Linked DNA regions of Homo sapiens: all the other regions are linked to region 5. The links are contacts of gene promoters, found by promoter capture Hi-C in blood cells and fetal thymus (Javierre and others, 2016). All regions are on one chromosome and are shown on one strand. Each heading gives the region's core, a stretch centred on a gene start or on the middle of the fragment in contact. The rest is flanking DNA. Distances are from core to core; before and after follow the strand shown. Region 1 holds the start of APOA2 (apolipoprotein A2). Region 2 has its middle 5.7 kb from the start of TRV-CAC1-1. Region 3 has its middle 14 kb from the start of AIM2. Region 4 holds the start of PPOX (protoporphyrinogen oxidase). Region 5 holds the start of IGSF8 (immunoglobulin superfamily member 8).

Region 1 (2,700 bases), core at 201-2,700, 1.1 Mb before region 5:
GGGTGATGAAATAATCTGTACAACAAATCCCCATGACACAAGTTTACGTGTGTAACAAACTTGCATATATAGGCCAGGGGCGGTGGCTGATGCCTGTAATCCTAGCACTTTGGGAGGCCGAGGCGGGCAGATCACCTGAGGTCGGGAGTTCAAGACCAGCCTGACCAACATGGGGAAACCCCGTCTCTACTAAAAGTACAAAATTACCCGGGCGTGGTGGCGCATGTCTGTAATCCCAGCTACTTGGGATGCTGAGGCAGGAGAATCCTTGAACCCGGGAGGTGGAGGTTGCAGTGAGCCGAGATCATGCCATTACGCTCCAGCCTGAGCAACAAGAGCAAAACTCCGTCTCAGGAAAACAAACAAAAAAACCTGCACATATACTTCTGAATTTAAAACAAAAGTTAAAAAACAAAGATTTCTTGGTCTCTGGTCACTACCTCCCTCATCAGCTTTGCGCCTCCACTGTCACCCTCAGGAATGTTCCACATACTCAGCGAGTATGCTTGGGGGGCAAAAGGGTGAAAGATACAAAAGCTTCTGATATCTATTTAACTGATTTCACCCAAATGCTTTGAACCTGGGAATGTACCTCTCCCCCTCCCCCACCCCCAACAGGAGTGAGACAAGGGCCAGGGCTATTGCCCCTGCTGACTCAATATTGGCTAATCACTGCCTAGAACTGATAAGGTGATCAAATGACCAGGTGCCTTCAACCTTTACCCTGGTAGAAGCCTCTTATTCACCTCTTTTCCTGCCAGAGCCCTCCATTGGGAGGGGACGGGCGGAAGCTGTTTTCTGAATTTGTTTTACTGGGGGTAGGGTATGTTCAGTGATCAGCATCCAGGTCATTCTGGGCTCTCCTGTTTTCTCCCCGTCTCATTACACATTAACTCAAAAACGGACAAGATCATTTACACTTGCCCTCTTACCCGACCCTCATTCCCCTAACCCCCATAGCCCTCAACCCTGTCCCTGATTTCAATTCCTTTCTCCTTTCTTCTGCTCCCCAATATCTCTCTGCCAAGTTGCAGTAAAGTGGGATAAGGTTGAGAGATGAGATCTACCCATAATGGAATAAAGACACCATGAGCTTTCCATGGTATGATGGGTTGATGGTATTCCATGGGTTGATATGTCAGAGCTTTCCAGAGAAATAACTTGGAATCCTGCTTCCTGTTGCACTCAAGTCCAAGGACCTCAGATCTCAAAAGAATGAACCTCAAATATACCTGAAGTGTACCCCCTTAGCCTCCACTAAGAGCTGTACCCCCTGCCTCTCACCCCATCACCATGAGTCTTCCATGTGCTTGTCCTCTCCTCCCCCATTTCTCCAACTTGTTTATCCTCACATAATCCCTGCCCCACTGGGCCCATCCATAGTCCCTGTCACCTGACAGGGGGTGGGTAAACAGACAGGTATATAGCCCCTTCCTCTCCAGCCAGGGCAGGCACAGACACCAAGGACAGAGACGCTGGCTAGGTAAGATAAGGAGGCAAGATGTGTGAGCAGCATCCAAAGAGGCCTGGGCTTCAGTTGTGGAGAGGGAGAGAGCCAGGTTGGAATGGGCAGCAGGTAGGGAGATCCCTGGGGAGGAGCTGAAGCCCATTTGGCTTCAGTGTCCCCCAAACCCCCACCACCCTCTTCCTAGGCCGCCCTCCCCACTGTTACCAACATGAAGCTGCTCGCAGCAACTGTGCTACTCCTCACCATCTGCAGCCTTGAAGGTGGGTGTGATATGGAGAGGGGGCCAAAAGGGAGAATGTGCTGGTGGTTATAGCTACCTATCTGCCTGTGCTCTTATATCCAGGTCTGGCAACCAAAGGGCTCAAAAGGAAGATCATTCCCTCTCTAAAGCCCAGAAAGCCCATCCAAAGATCTGGCTGGATACCTTTTTGGGGAGGGGGCAGAGAGCTGGGGTGGGTACTGGCAGAGGTATGGCAGGAGGCCAGGATTCACTGCTGTGGACCCAGCTGAAAAGAGTGTGTGTGTGTGTGTGTGTGTGTGTGTGTGTGTGTGTGGGCAGGAGCTTTGGTTCGGAGACAGGCAAAGGAGCCATGTGTGGAGAGCCTGGTTTCTCAGTACTTCCAGACCGTGACTGACTATGGCAAGGACCTGATGGAGAAGGTCAAGAGCCCAGAGCTTCAGGCCGAGGCCAAGTAAGTCTCAGGGCAAGGGGTTCAGGGGCTGTGGAACTGTGGAGAGAAAGAAGGGAAGATGAGAGGTCCCACAGAAGTCTGAACCCAGGGGTGGGGATTAGGGCAGATTAGGCTTAAATTGCAGAGAAAAAGTATTTCATCACCCAAAGATCCCACACGTCTCTTAGATAGAGAGGAACAGCAAGAACTGGGCCTTGAATTTCAGTCTCTAGAGTCTGTCCCTCTACCTAGCAAAGGTCTTGACTCTATTCCTACCTAGGGGCTTTGCCATGCGATGGACCAGGCACTAGAGTTTGGGGACCTGAGTCAGTCTGCTCTGACCTCCCACCACCACCAAGGCCCCTGCCAGTGCCTAGGGTCCCTCAGATTAAACTCTAATCCCCTCACCTATCCAGGTCTTACTTTGAAAAGTCAAAGGAGCAGCTGACACCCCTGATCAAGAAGGCTGGAACGGAACTGGTTAACTTCTTGAGCTATTTCGTGGAACTTGGAACACAGCCTGCCACCCAGTGAAGTGTCCAGACCATTGTCTTCCAACCC
Region 2 (2,735 bases), core at 96-2,595, 1.3 Mb before region 5:
GGGAGGCTGAGGCAAGAGGATGGCTTGAGCCCAGGCGGTCTGATCACTTGAGCCCAGGAGTTCAAGACTAGCCTGGGCAACATGGCAAAACCCAGGCTCTACCAAAAACAGAAAAATTATCCAGATGTGGTGGCTCATACCTGTGGTCCTAGCTACTTGGGAGGCTGAGTTGGGAGGATTGCTTGAGCCTGGAGGCAGAAGTTTCAGTGAGCCATGATCGTGCTGATACAGGAGATAGAAATTATTTAGGAGATAGTGAGGGCAGAAGAGTCCTCAGTAGAATTTCTTTGCTAACAAAAAAGCAGCCCCCAAAATCATTTCTAAGAAAGAGCAGCCTGAAAAATTGAGCTGCAAACATAGGTAAGCAAGCTGGAAGCTTGCATGGGGGAATGCTGGCAGCTGTGCCAATAGAAAAGGGGTAACTGGGGGCCAGGCATGTCCACCATGGAGGCTCCATCTTCCCTTTTTTTGTTACCACATGTACAGTAATAAAGAAATGGGCAACATGGTGCAGCTCAGGCAGTGAACCTGCCTGCATAATCAAAGATTGGGGTGGAGGAGGCCAGAGATTCCCATAGTATACAAATAGCACACCTGGTCAGACCAGTTTTTTGCATGCTATGTAGATCAGACTCTGCCTCCCACCAGCTCATCTAAAAACCCCCTGAATTTCACCACGGGTCTGGCAACCCATTTTTCCAGGACCCCTTTCTGCAGCAGAGAGCTATTCTCTTTCTTTCGTCTATTAAACTTCCACTCTCAACCTCACTCTTTGTGTGTCTGCATCCTTATTCTTGGTGGCTGTGAGACAACGAACCTCGGATGTTACTCCAGATAACAAGGCCGTTTCAGTGCCACTGCACTCCAGCCTGGGCAACAGAGTGACACCCTGTCTCAAACAAAAAACAAATCCCTGTCTTCATAGAGTTTACATCCTAGTTTGTGAGGCAGATAATAAGATAAAATATATGGTTTGTGTGATATTGTGAAGAAGTATACATTTGGTCTTTGTCCTTAGTTCCTAACACAGATCTAAAACACTTGTAATTTCCTGAGTAATAGGGGTGAGAGGAGTGTCTTTTGTTATCCATAGTAAGCCCCTTCCAAGCACACCTGAGTTTATACTAATGAGGTGATTCCTAGAAGATGGGGGCCAGTTTCCAGAGAAACCAACCAGATGATCAGAGGGCTGGAACTTTCAGCTCCATCGCCAACCTCTGGGGAGGAGAAAGGGGCTGGAGATTGACTCCAATGGTCAATGATTTCATCAATTCTGTCTAAGTAATGGAACCTATGTTCAAACCCTAAACAACAGGGTTCCAAGAGTTTCTGGCTTAGTGAACACACTGTGGTGCTGGGAAGATGGCAAGCCTAAATAGAGCATGGATGCTCCAAGCCCTCACCCATACTTGCCCTCGGTGCATCTTCCATTTGGCTGTCCATCTGTAAACTTTGTCATATTCTTTATTTTTTTATTATTATTATTGCAGACAGAGTCTCACTCGTTTTCCAGGCTGGAGTGCAGTGGCACGATTTCAGCTCACTGCAACCTCCACCTCCTCAGTTCAGGCGATTCTCTCAGCCTCCCCAGTAGCTGGGATTACAGCGCCTGCCACTACACCCAGCCAATTTTTGTATTTTTAGTAGAGATGGAGTTTCATCATGTTGGCCAGGCTGGTCTTGAACTCCTGACCTCTCAGGTGATCCACCCACCTCAGCCTCCCAAAGTGCTGGGATTACAAGCATGAGCCACTGCGCCCGGCCTTGTCATATTCTTTATAATAAACCGGTAAATGTAAGTAAATGTCTCCCTGAGTTTGTGAGCCATTATGGCAAATTATCAAACAAGAGGAGGGTGTTGGGAAAGCCCCAGTTGATAGCCAATTGGTGAGAAGTACAGATGAGAATCTGGAACTTGTGATTGACATCTGAAGTTAGGAGCAGTCTTGTGAGCCTGAGTCCTTAACCTGTGGGAACTTCATTAATTCCAGGTAATTAGTGCCAGACTTGAGTTAGATGGGAGGACACACAATTGGTGACCATTGAGAACTGGAGAATTGCTTGGTGTGGAAAACCCACACATTTGATGTCAAAAGTGTGTGGGCAGAGGAAACAGTTTTTATTTAGTATGTCAGATGTGACAAGTGCTAAAGAGAAATAAAGAGGGAAACAGAAGATGAAATATCTGGGTGTCTTTGTATGTGGAATTTTAGATAGTGTGGCCAAGGCAGGCCCCCTGAGAAGTAACTTTTGTGTTAAGACCTAAAGGAAGTGAGGGAACTAGCCATGTAGACTATCTAGAGGACAAGCTTCCAGGCTGAGGGGCTACAAAGTGCAAAGGTTCTGTGGCAGCAGCAAGCTGTTGTGTCCCAGAAACAGCAAAAACCAGTGTAGCCAGATCAGAGTAAGCTAGGAGGAGGTGAAGGGTCTTGTGGAACACAGCAAGGATTTTGGCTTTCACTTTGCATGATGGGATCCTGGGGAAATGCATTTCCCTGCAAGTACAACAGGGAGAGTTAGGGCAGGGAATGGATCTCAGAGCAAGAAATATAAATGTGGTACATGTGGTTTCACTGGGGCTTCTTGATGGTATGGGAGAGGGAAACTACAGCCAAAGAGCAGCAAGAAAGGAATAACTACAGTTCCCGTGGTGGCCCTGCTTTCTCCTCTGTTCTGATCCCAAAGTGGTTGATTCCTTCCCCTCACCCTTGTCTCAGACCAACCACTCTAGCACT
Region 3 (2,700 bases), core at 114-2,613, 1.0 Mb after region 5:
TTGTGTATCCTTGAGGCCCCTTTCATGCTAGAATATTTTTATAGGTGACAGCAGTTTAAGCATCCACATTCTAAGCAGGCCCTTTTCAATAGAGAGGGACGAAGCCACCATTTTTGCTTTGGCAATTGCTGGTGTGTCAGTGAACACACACACACTCATAACATTTGTTACCACATCCTTTATACATCACCCCCTAAGTTACTCTCCAAATACCTTCCCCCAAGGGCATCCAGAGGGCAGGACTTCAGCTGGCTGCCTTGATTCATCCCATCCTACAGATTGCTGTCAACACAAGAGATGATCAGGATAATGTAACGATTGCACTTTGTAAGTATATAATTTTGTTCATTGTCACCAGTTACATGCTGGCCATCCTCAAGCATATAAGATAGTCTTGTAACTTGTGAATCTTCAGAAATCAGAGGAGTTTCTCCTCCTCTTCACTGCTGACAGTAGTCAAAAGGGACCCAGCCTAGAATAAGTAAAGGGAAAGGCAGAACCTGCCAAAGCACGTCGTGACAAGCATGTCATTGTGGACTGACTCTACCCAGCATTTTTTCAGTGGTTGTAATGCCACACATGGCTTTAAGGTATTAATAGGATTGGACACAAGCTTTTCTGTCTTCTACACTTATAAGACCAAGAATGGCTAAATATAAAAAATGTAACCTTTATCCTATCATTCTCTTTTCTAGCTGTATTATTTGTTACTTTATTAAGTAATGTTTAAAGTTATTTGTATTAATTATTTTTACCATTCTCAGGACCATACAAGCCAATTTCTACAAGACTAGCATTAGGATTGAGGTTTCTCATTTAATGGTGATTCATCTTTCCCACATACAGCCTGCCCCTTCATTCTGATGTTTCCATTTCAGCAAGAGACTGAAAGGGAAAGGAGGTCAATAGGAAGTTACTCAGGAAGAAGAATACCAGGAGGGAGTGATGGTGCTGAACACAAGGGAGCCATTTGAGGTGGAATCTTTGAAACTCAGACACTTTATGCTAATGTGGTAGAGGTTGCTTAGGGAAAGTCTTTAGCATCAATGTAAAAGACAATTTTAACTCAAAGAACGATCAAAAATTATTTCCCTGATGGTTTGCTAGAGTCAAAACATGCCTTACACATGTTTGATGCTGACTCTGACAGAGGGATCTGTGTCTCCAGTTACCATGTCAGGAGACTAGACAAACAGCTCATGGTAAAAAATAAAAGACAAATGAATAACCTCCCAAACACAACCTTGTAGGAAAAATAGTAAGAGTTTTCACCTTAAGGTAAAGTTTTGGACTTGGTCTGAAGTGTCCATAGAAGGCATTTAAATAAACATTTTTATTTAGAGATAGAAACAAAAACAAAAATTGAAAGGCATGGAATTTTAGTGGCGTGATGACAATTACAATGACAAAATTATGAAATGTGAAGCAGTCACACGCTTTCTAGCAGTATGCGAGAGAGACTGATTCATGGACTTTAAATTCATGTATTATTTTTACATTCTGGTATATTTTTGCACTTTATAGTCACATCTTTTTCTGGTGTATGTATCTTTACACTGCATTCCTGCACTTTATTTAAAGTGACAGTATTTGTGAATATGACTGAAGTTAAGAGTTGAATGTTGTCTTATGTTGGGTCCCCAAGAAACAGACTGTTAGATTTGCCTGCAAGAAGTTTATTAGAGGGTGCTCTTGGGAACACCTATAAAGGAGAGAGGGAAACTGGGTTGGGCGGAGGGAGAAGTTAAATTGCAGTGAGGGCTGCAGCCAATCCCCCTGGGAACCCTAGAGCTGGGATGGCCTCTAGTTATGCCTAAGTGAGGCAAGAAGGCTGTGACCTTGAACCTCCTCATAGACCCTAAATCCTTGGCTTCAGGCTTTCTCCATGGAAGGATGCAACCTTGGGGAAGGCAGTTCCCTTCAGCATAGGGCAGTCCTGGAACACAGACTCAGGTGTCAGCTGTAACACTTCTAGCAGCTGGGAAAATAGGCACTTTGGTTGTCTGGTTGAAGGGTCTAGGGTCCAGTTACTGAAAACAAATAGTTACTGAACTAAAAACCGATAGAATAGGTAGGGCAGAGATGAAAGAGCAGTGATTTATGGAAAGCTTAGAAGAATAACTTCGTCGTAGGAAACCATGTGTATATTCTTATGATTGTGTGATTCTGGGACTCAGGGTACATGTTTTGAGTGGCCATTTTTGTTTTGACTGGTACATAATTTAAAGAACTAAGCAGAGTGATCCTGTGTTTGTTTGTTTGGTTTTGCATTCAGCTATCCTGAGAGTAAAGGAGTGAAACTAGGAAAGAAACTTCTTAAGGGAGAACCAGATAGTGAAACTAAGCAGGGGAGCCTGTAGGTAAGGGGGTTGAACAAACAATCCAACACAGGGGCTTCTTTAAGCAAGTGACATGCTTTATGTCTACCTTCTGTGCTTCTATCCTGATCTACCTTGGTTTTTATCCTTTTGGTTATGGAGTTGAACTTCTTCATCTTGCCACCAGGAGGCAGTGTTTTTTAGTGCTTAGGAGGATGTGCTTTGGCTACACCAGATGAAGTTCAAATCTTATTTCTACCATTCACTAATTGTATGACCTTAGTCCATTCACAAACACCGCTAAGCCTCTATTTTCTCATCTATAAAATAAGAATAATGACGGTACTCACTTTGCAGGATTGTTAGGAATATTAAATTGAAA
Region 4 (2,700 bases), core at 46-2,545, 1.1 Mb before region 5:
TGGTGGTAGGCACCTGTAGTCCCAGCTACTCGGGAGGCTGAGGCAGGAGAATCGCTTGAACCCGAAAGGCGGAAGTTGCAGTGAGCCAAGATCGCGCCATTGCACTCCATCCTGGGCGAGAGCGATACTCCGTCTCAAAAAAAAAAAAAAAAAAAAAAAAAAAGAAAAGAAGAAAGAAATGGAAGGCATATGAGGATGAGGGCACAGTAAAAGGAGCGGAGGTGCTGGTGTTACCTGAGGCCAGTGGGTAGGGCATGCAGGGCACCGCCCACGTAGAGGAACCTGTTCTGGGCAGCTGGGTGGTCTCCCCGGACAGGCAGCACTTCTGAATCCAAGCCAAGCTCAGAAACCTGCTCTCCACATGCCCTCAGAAGAGGAGAAACTAAGGGAAGATCTGACCCACCAAACATACTTCCTCCCCTAAACTCTATTCCCCAATGGAAGCCCCCTCCACAACCTCTCCTAGACATCCCACAAGCCTCTCACCAGGAGCAAGGTCCGGGCCCCTAGGGCTCCCGCTGGCCTAATTCCCCGAGGTCCAAGCTCAAAGATAGCACCATTAGGGCCTCGAACGGAGCGAATCCAGCCTCCCAGACGCTCACTGCTCTCCACTAGGACCACCTGGCGACAAGAGGGAGAGACACTGCAGCACCGCCTGTAGCCGCCGGCGAGAGGTCAGGAGGGGAGGGGAAGAGGCATATTCAGAGGGCCAGGATCCATCTAGCTTTTGATGGAAATGGGAAGAGCATTAAATGAAGCTCCCTCTGGCACAAGTGGAGCACTCACCTTAGGGGGGCAGGGGGCCCGGCTCAGGTGGTAACTGGCGGCCAAGCCGCTGATGCCTCCGCCCAGCACGACCACGGTCCGGCCCATGCGGAAACCTGGGGGAAAGGGGGCGATATGGACAGGCAGACCGGGGACAACCTGCGCTCCAGAAGCCCCGCCGGTTTTGAGTTCTATCCCGGCCACTCACTGCTTTAGGGGAAACTAAGTGTGCACGGATGGGCTGGTGGAACAGCGAGGTCCCCGTCCAGGGGCCAGGACTCACCCACAATAGGTAGGGATGAGAGAAAATGAGGGAGAAGGAGATCGAGGTCCTAAGACCGTACCCCGCCGGCGCTCTGCTGGGTGCAGATAAGGGCCACACCCTCGCTATCGGCCCTCGCAGGGCTCGGGCGGCGGGCAGTACGCCTGAGTTCTGAGGTGCTCTGCTTGCCACACCTCTGTAGGCCAACAAGTGCTTCAAATCCGCTACTCCCACCCCCAGCCTTTTCGGTCTCTCCTACGCTCCGTCCACTCTGTTCTCGCGGCACGCGCCTAACCCTACCTCTCCTACATCTGGATTGGCGGGACTTGGAAGGCCCCGGATCACGTTCACCAATAAAACATTGAACTGGCAGAGGCGGAGCGACGGCAGCTGTAAGAGCTGGAGGTTAACCGTGTTAGCGCCGAGCTGGGAGTGAGCGGCCGTACCCGTCACTGCCCTCCTCAGGACCGAGGCGGCGAGCGCTTAATGCTGGAGTTAGCGTTCCCCAGCACAAGCTTACCAGGTCCAGCTAGGGTGACAACCCTAGAGGGAAGGCCGCAGGAGCTTTGGTCGTAGGGAGAATAGATAGGGACACTTAAGGCCAGTCCACGGGGAGGCGGCTCCATAAACAGCTCCTTGATGTTAGCAACAGACCGGGCCTACGGGAGCTAGGGCCGCCCGGCAACGTACCCAGTGTTTGTCAACAGTGGCACTCCCCCATCGCCGACCAAACCAGTCGCCCCAGAGCCTGCACGCAGCCTCACTCAAGTATGCCTTTCCTCTTTTCCTCCCAGTACATAACCTTCACTGCTGGGGGACACAGGTCCGGGTCCAGCACCATCCCCGAAACCTTCCCCCTCGGCTCTGAGAGCGCCCCCACCTGTTAGAGAGGGAACTTGGGTCCCAAGAAGACTCCAATTTGGCTCAGTTCTCTATCACCCCCTAAGCAAAAATACAAATAAGCACATCATTTTTTCTTAATAAATTTATTCACAAAAAGTGATATTGCAGAGGGTCTGGGGGCTGTACATGGGCAGGGGCTTGGTGAGCTTTGTACATGGGGCTGGGAGACAAGGGAGCCTCCAGGTGGAAGGGTATTTTTTAATAAAAAAAATAATGGAGCTACAACCACCCCCTCCCCCCTCCCCGATTAAAAAGACACAAAAATAGACGTCTCTGAGGTAAACGGGGAGCCTGGGGCTTAAGGGTGTTTAAAGGGCTTCACAGGTGCCAGAGCTTAGAGGTGTCACAGGCACCGGGGTGGCTCCTGCATCAGTTGGTAGAACAGCACGTAGCCCTCGCTGGATGCCACCTGGTTTTCACTGACAGGGGAGACACTAGGAAAAAAGGAGATCGGGAAAGGGTTGTGGTCATTCCTGTTTACTCCCTTCTCCCTACAAGACCGAACCTCAGAGCATCCAGGAAATGATCAGGCAAGACCTCCACCTCTCCTTTCACCTGGCACTCTGCTCTCCTGGAGCTTCATAGAAGGGGAGGGTGTCAGGGCTGAGTGGGAATGGGGCAGGATGTAAATAGGAGGCTATTCTCACCGAGAGTCATTGTAGACATGCCAACCAGTCTGGCACCGGCACAGGGCTGTGTAGTGGCCATAGTGGACGCTGCCTGAGTGGTTGCAAAGGGCATACAGCTGGTATACAGGACTTCCTGCGGGG
Region 5 (2,700 bases), core at 174-2,673:
GGGGGATGAGAGGGGAGAGGGAGGATGTTGGAGGGTAGAGGGTGGTAAATGGGCTCTGGGGTCACCTCCCACTGACAGCCACTCTGACAGCCTTGGCTTTGCAAACCTGGCCATCTCTTCTCCCCATTCTGGTCTCATCCTTCCTGCCCCTGCCCACTTCCCATCTTTACAGTTCAGGAAGAGACAGAGCACCTGGGAAGGGTGCCTCCTCCATTCTCCCACCTCCAGGGCAAGCCCCACTCTTCCTAGAACAGAGCAATGTTCATCTCTTCCCACTGTCACTGAACATAGAGACTCCTTCACCTAAATGCCAGGTCTAAACTAAGCCTCTTAGGAAGCAGTTCAAATAATAATTCAAAACCTAAAACAAAATAATCCTTATCTCCCATTTTGTGTTAGTTTCCTGTGCCAAACACTTTATGTACATTACCTATCATCACAATAACCCTTTGGGTGATGTGATCAACCTCAATTCAATTTGCAGAGGAGAAAACTGAAGTTGAAGGAGGTTAAACAACTGGGCTAGGATCACCCAACCCAGAAATGACGTCACATGGACGGCCCCCTCTCCTAATCCATTTTTCTTTTGGTTTTGCCCTCTGAGGGGGTGAAAAACAGGTCTCCAGTGACCTTCTGGATCCTGGAAGCGCCCTTCAGCTCAAACCCTTCGCATTCAGGAACTCCTGGCTTCCGCCAACCCCTACTTCAGCAGGGTTTGCAGCGAGGACTATGGCTCAGAGCAAATAACTGAATTCTAAATGCGTGGTCACAGTCACCTCGCCAATCCCAGGGACCCTGCACCCAACTCTCCAGGAAAGGCTGGCAGGTGCGGGGTGGAATGCGCTCTGTGCGAGGGTGGGTGGGAATTTCGATGCGCAGAGGTGCAGTTAGCTCACTCCTGCGGGGGCCTCGGGCGGAGCCAGGGCCAGGGGCGGGGCGAGGCCGGGGTCCAGGGCGGAGCCAGGATTGGAGGCTGACGTTAGCCCTGCGGGGACGGGGAAGGGGTGCGGCTTGGGACTGGGGCGGGGCCGGGGCCCGGGGAGGAGCCAGGATTGGAGTCCGACTGTAGTCCTGGTGGGGCGGGGCGGGGGAGGGGCCGGAACTGGGGCTGGGCCGAGGCCCGGGGCGGATCCAGGGCTGGAGTCTTGGCGGGGCGGGGCGGGGAGGGGCGGGGCCGGGGCGGGGCTGGGACTCGATGCGACTCAAAGGTGAGTTTCGAGGGGCGGGGCGGGGCCGGGGCCAGGTGCGGAGCAAAGGCCGGAGTCTGGCGGGGGTGGGGCAGGCAGGGCCAAGGCTGGGTCCGGGGCGGGGCGGGCCTAGACGGGGCGGTGGAAGGGGCGGTGCCGGGGCGGGCCGGGGCGAGAATGGTTTCAGAACTGCCGAGGGCTGGAGGGAAAGCAGCGGGAGGGGCGGAGGGAGGGGATTCGGCAGCTCCAGTTCAGCTCGCTCGGCGCACCCACGCCTCGCTGCCCCGCTTCCTGCCCTCAACCTGGGCATGCGCCCCCCACCCTTCCGGCCCCCCAGAACCCGCGCCATCCCCCGGAGCCTCCCCAGAGCTGGCCGCGCAGGATGGGCGCCCTCAGGCCCACGCTGCTGCCGCCTTCGCTGCCGCTGCTGCTGCTGCTAATGCTAGGTAAGCCAGGCCCCCGTTCCGGTTCCCGGCCCTGCCGGGCAGGTGCCTGCCATCCAGCACCCCCCTAGCATTTCGGGGCTCCTCACATCCTCCTCCGTCAGGGGTACCTCCAGCCTCCCCGGGGTCGGCGTCCAGCTGCGCTTTGTGGCTGTCCGCCGAGCCAGTCTTGGGAAGAGTGCAGGCTCCCCAGCTCTAAGCCAGGGACTGGGGCGTAGAGAGGACCCACTAAGGTGCTGCCCCAGGCACTGCTCGGCCTCCCGGGGCAGGCCACACATCTCAGCTAGCATACCCACGTACTGGGGTCGCTGCACCAAATGCTGCGACTCCTTTCTGCCCCACACTCAGCTCCAGGCCTGGCCTTGGGTGCCCGCCCTACGAGGGCAGTGCCTGCCCAGCTTCATAATTGCCCCAGAGTTGGCTGGAGGCCCAGAGGCCAGTTCTGCCCACGATCTTTGAAGTAAGTCTCTCCCAGTTGCGCTCCACGCACTTCATCAACTGGGGGCAGTTCCCTCTCTCACCCCCATCTCCACCCTGGGTTGGGTCCCTCTTTGCCCTTCTTCCTGTCTCCCAAATGGCACTTGGCTCTGCAGCCACCCATCAGTTTTCACACCGCTTAGTTCCAGCTTCCTTGCCTCAGGAGAAACCAGGTTCCATGGAGACTGATCCTGGGATCTCCAAGCACCTTGTGCCTGCTGTGGTGGGTGTTCATGGTGGGGTGTTCTGGGCCAATCTTGCATGGATGCATGGGGATAATGACAGTGGAATTGTTTTTGGCCTGAACTGGAGGGCTCCCTGTAGGAGGTGGTCTGGGGAAGAGTATGGCATGGAGACAGTGAAACTGCCAGTACAGATGTTGATGAGGCTGAAGCCCTTGAAATGAGAGTGAAGCGTGGGGGTGGGGATGGTGACTTCAGAGCTGCTGTCGTCAAGGCAGAGGCTGAAGGTAGCCCCAGCTGCCTGTTTCTAGACCAGAGCTCCACAGTGGCACCAAGCAAAGCCTTCCCCTGCTGCAGGTCCCTGGGCCCTGCAGGGTTAGGATGAGTCCTCTCCCTGGTCCCTGGGCAGGT

Evidence for each region. The method cuts DNA at HindIII sites, captures the fragments that hold promoters and counts their contacts. A CHiCAGO score of 5 or more calls a contact.
Region 1: the fragment with the promoter of APOA2 here is called in contact with the fragment with the promoter of IGSF8 in region 5 in 5 of 17 cell types (total B cells, naive B cells, non-activated CD4 T cells and 2 more); the score reaches 6.7 in total B cells.
Region 2: a contact is called between a fragment that was not itself captured here and the fragment with the promoter of IGSF8 in region 5, in 3 of 17 cell types (non-activated CD4 T cells, fetal thymus and total CD4 T cells). The highest score is 6.1, in non-activated CD4 T cells.
Region 3: a fragment that was not itself captured here is called in contact with the fragment with the promoter of IGSF8 in region 5 in 1 of 17 cell types (neutrophils); the score reaches 6.1 in neutrophils.
Region 4: a contact is called between the fragment with the promoter of PPOX here and the fragment with the promoter of IGSF8 in region 5, in 1 of 17 cell types (fetal thymus). The highest score is 6.1, in fetal thymus.

The regions. Positions count from the first base shown.
Region 1 is chr1:161,222,378-161,225,077 of GRCh38, reverse strand. It overlaps APOA2 (apolipoprotein A2), which reads left to right and starts at 1,450. Exons shown (of 4, transcript NM_001643.2): 1 at 1,450-1,483; 2 at 1,653-1,728; 3 at 2,028-2,160; 4 at 2,556-2,700. The coding sequence starts at 1,677. The coding sequence ends at 2,673. The HindIII fragment of the contact is 2,953 bases long and covers 540-2,700 here.
Region 2 is chr1:161,392,728-161,395,462 of GRCh38, reverse strand. No RefSeq gene overlaps it. Among named protein-coding and RNA genes, the nearest start is that of TRV-CAC1-1, 5.7 kb to the left of the region's middle. The HindIII fragment of the contact is 1,933 bases long and covers 379-2,311 here.
Region 3 is chr1:159,089,196-159,091,895 of GRCh38, reverse strand. It overlaps a transcript of AIM2 not described here. Among named protein-coding and RNA genes, the nearest start is that of AIM2, 14 kb to the right of the region's middle. The HindIII fragment of the contact is 1,495 bases long and covers 616-2,110 here.
Region 4 is chr1:161,165,021-161,167,720 of GRCh38, reverse strand. PPOX (protoporphyrinogen oxidase) reads right to left here and starts at 1,295. Exons shown (of 13, transcript NM_001122764.3): 1 at 1,049-1,295; 2 at 787-881; 3 at 487-621; 4 at 235-350. The coding sequence starts at 873. It overlaps USP21 (ubiquitin specific peptidase 21), which reads right to left. Exons shown (of 14, transcript NM_001014443.3): 13 at 2,578-2,692; 14 at 1,998-2,364. The coding sequence ends at 2,274. RefSeq lists an enhancer at 1-240. The HindIII fragment of the contact is 28,112 bases long and covers 1-1,544 here.
Region 5 is chr1:160,097,342-160,100,041 of GRCh38, reverse strand. IGSF8 (immunoglobulin superfamily member 8) reads left to right here and starts at 1,423. Exons shown (of 7, transcript NM_052868.6): 1 at 1,423-1,633. The coding sequence starts at 1,570. RefSeq lists a silencer at 839-1,668 and an enhancer at 2,235-2,700. The HindIII fragment of the contact is 5,064 bases long and covers 1-2,700 here.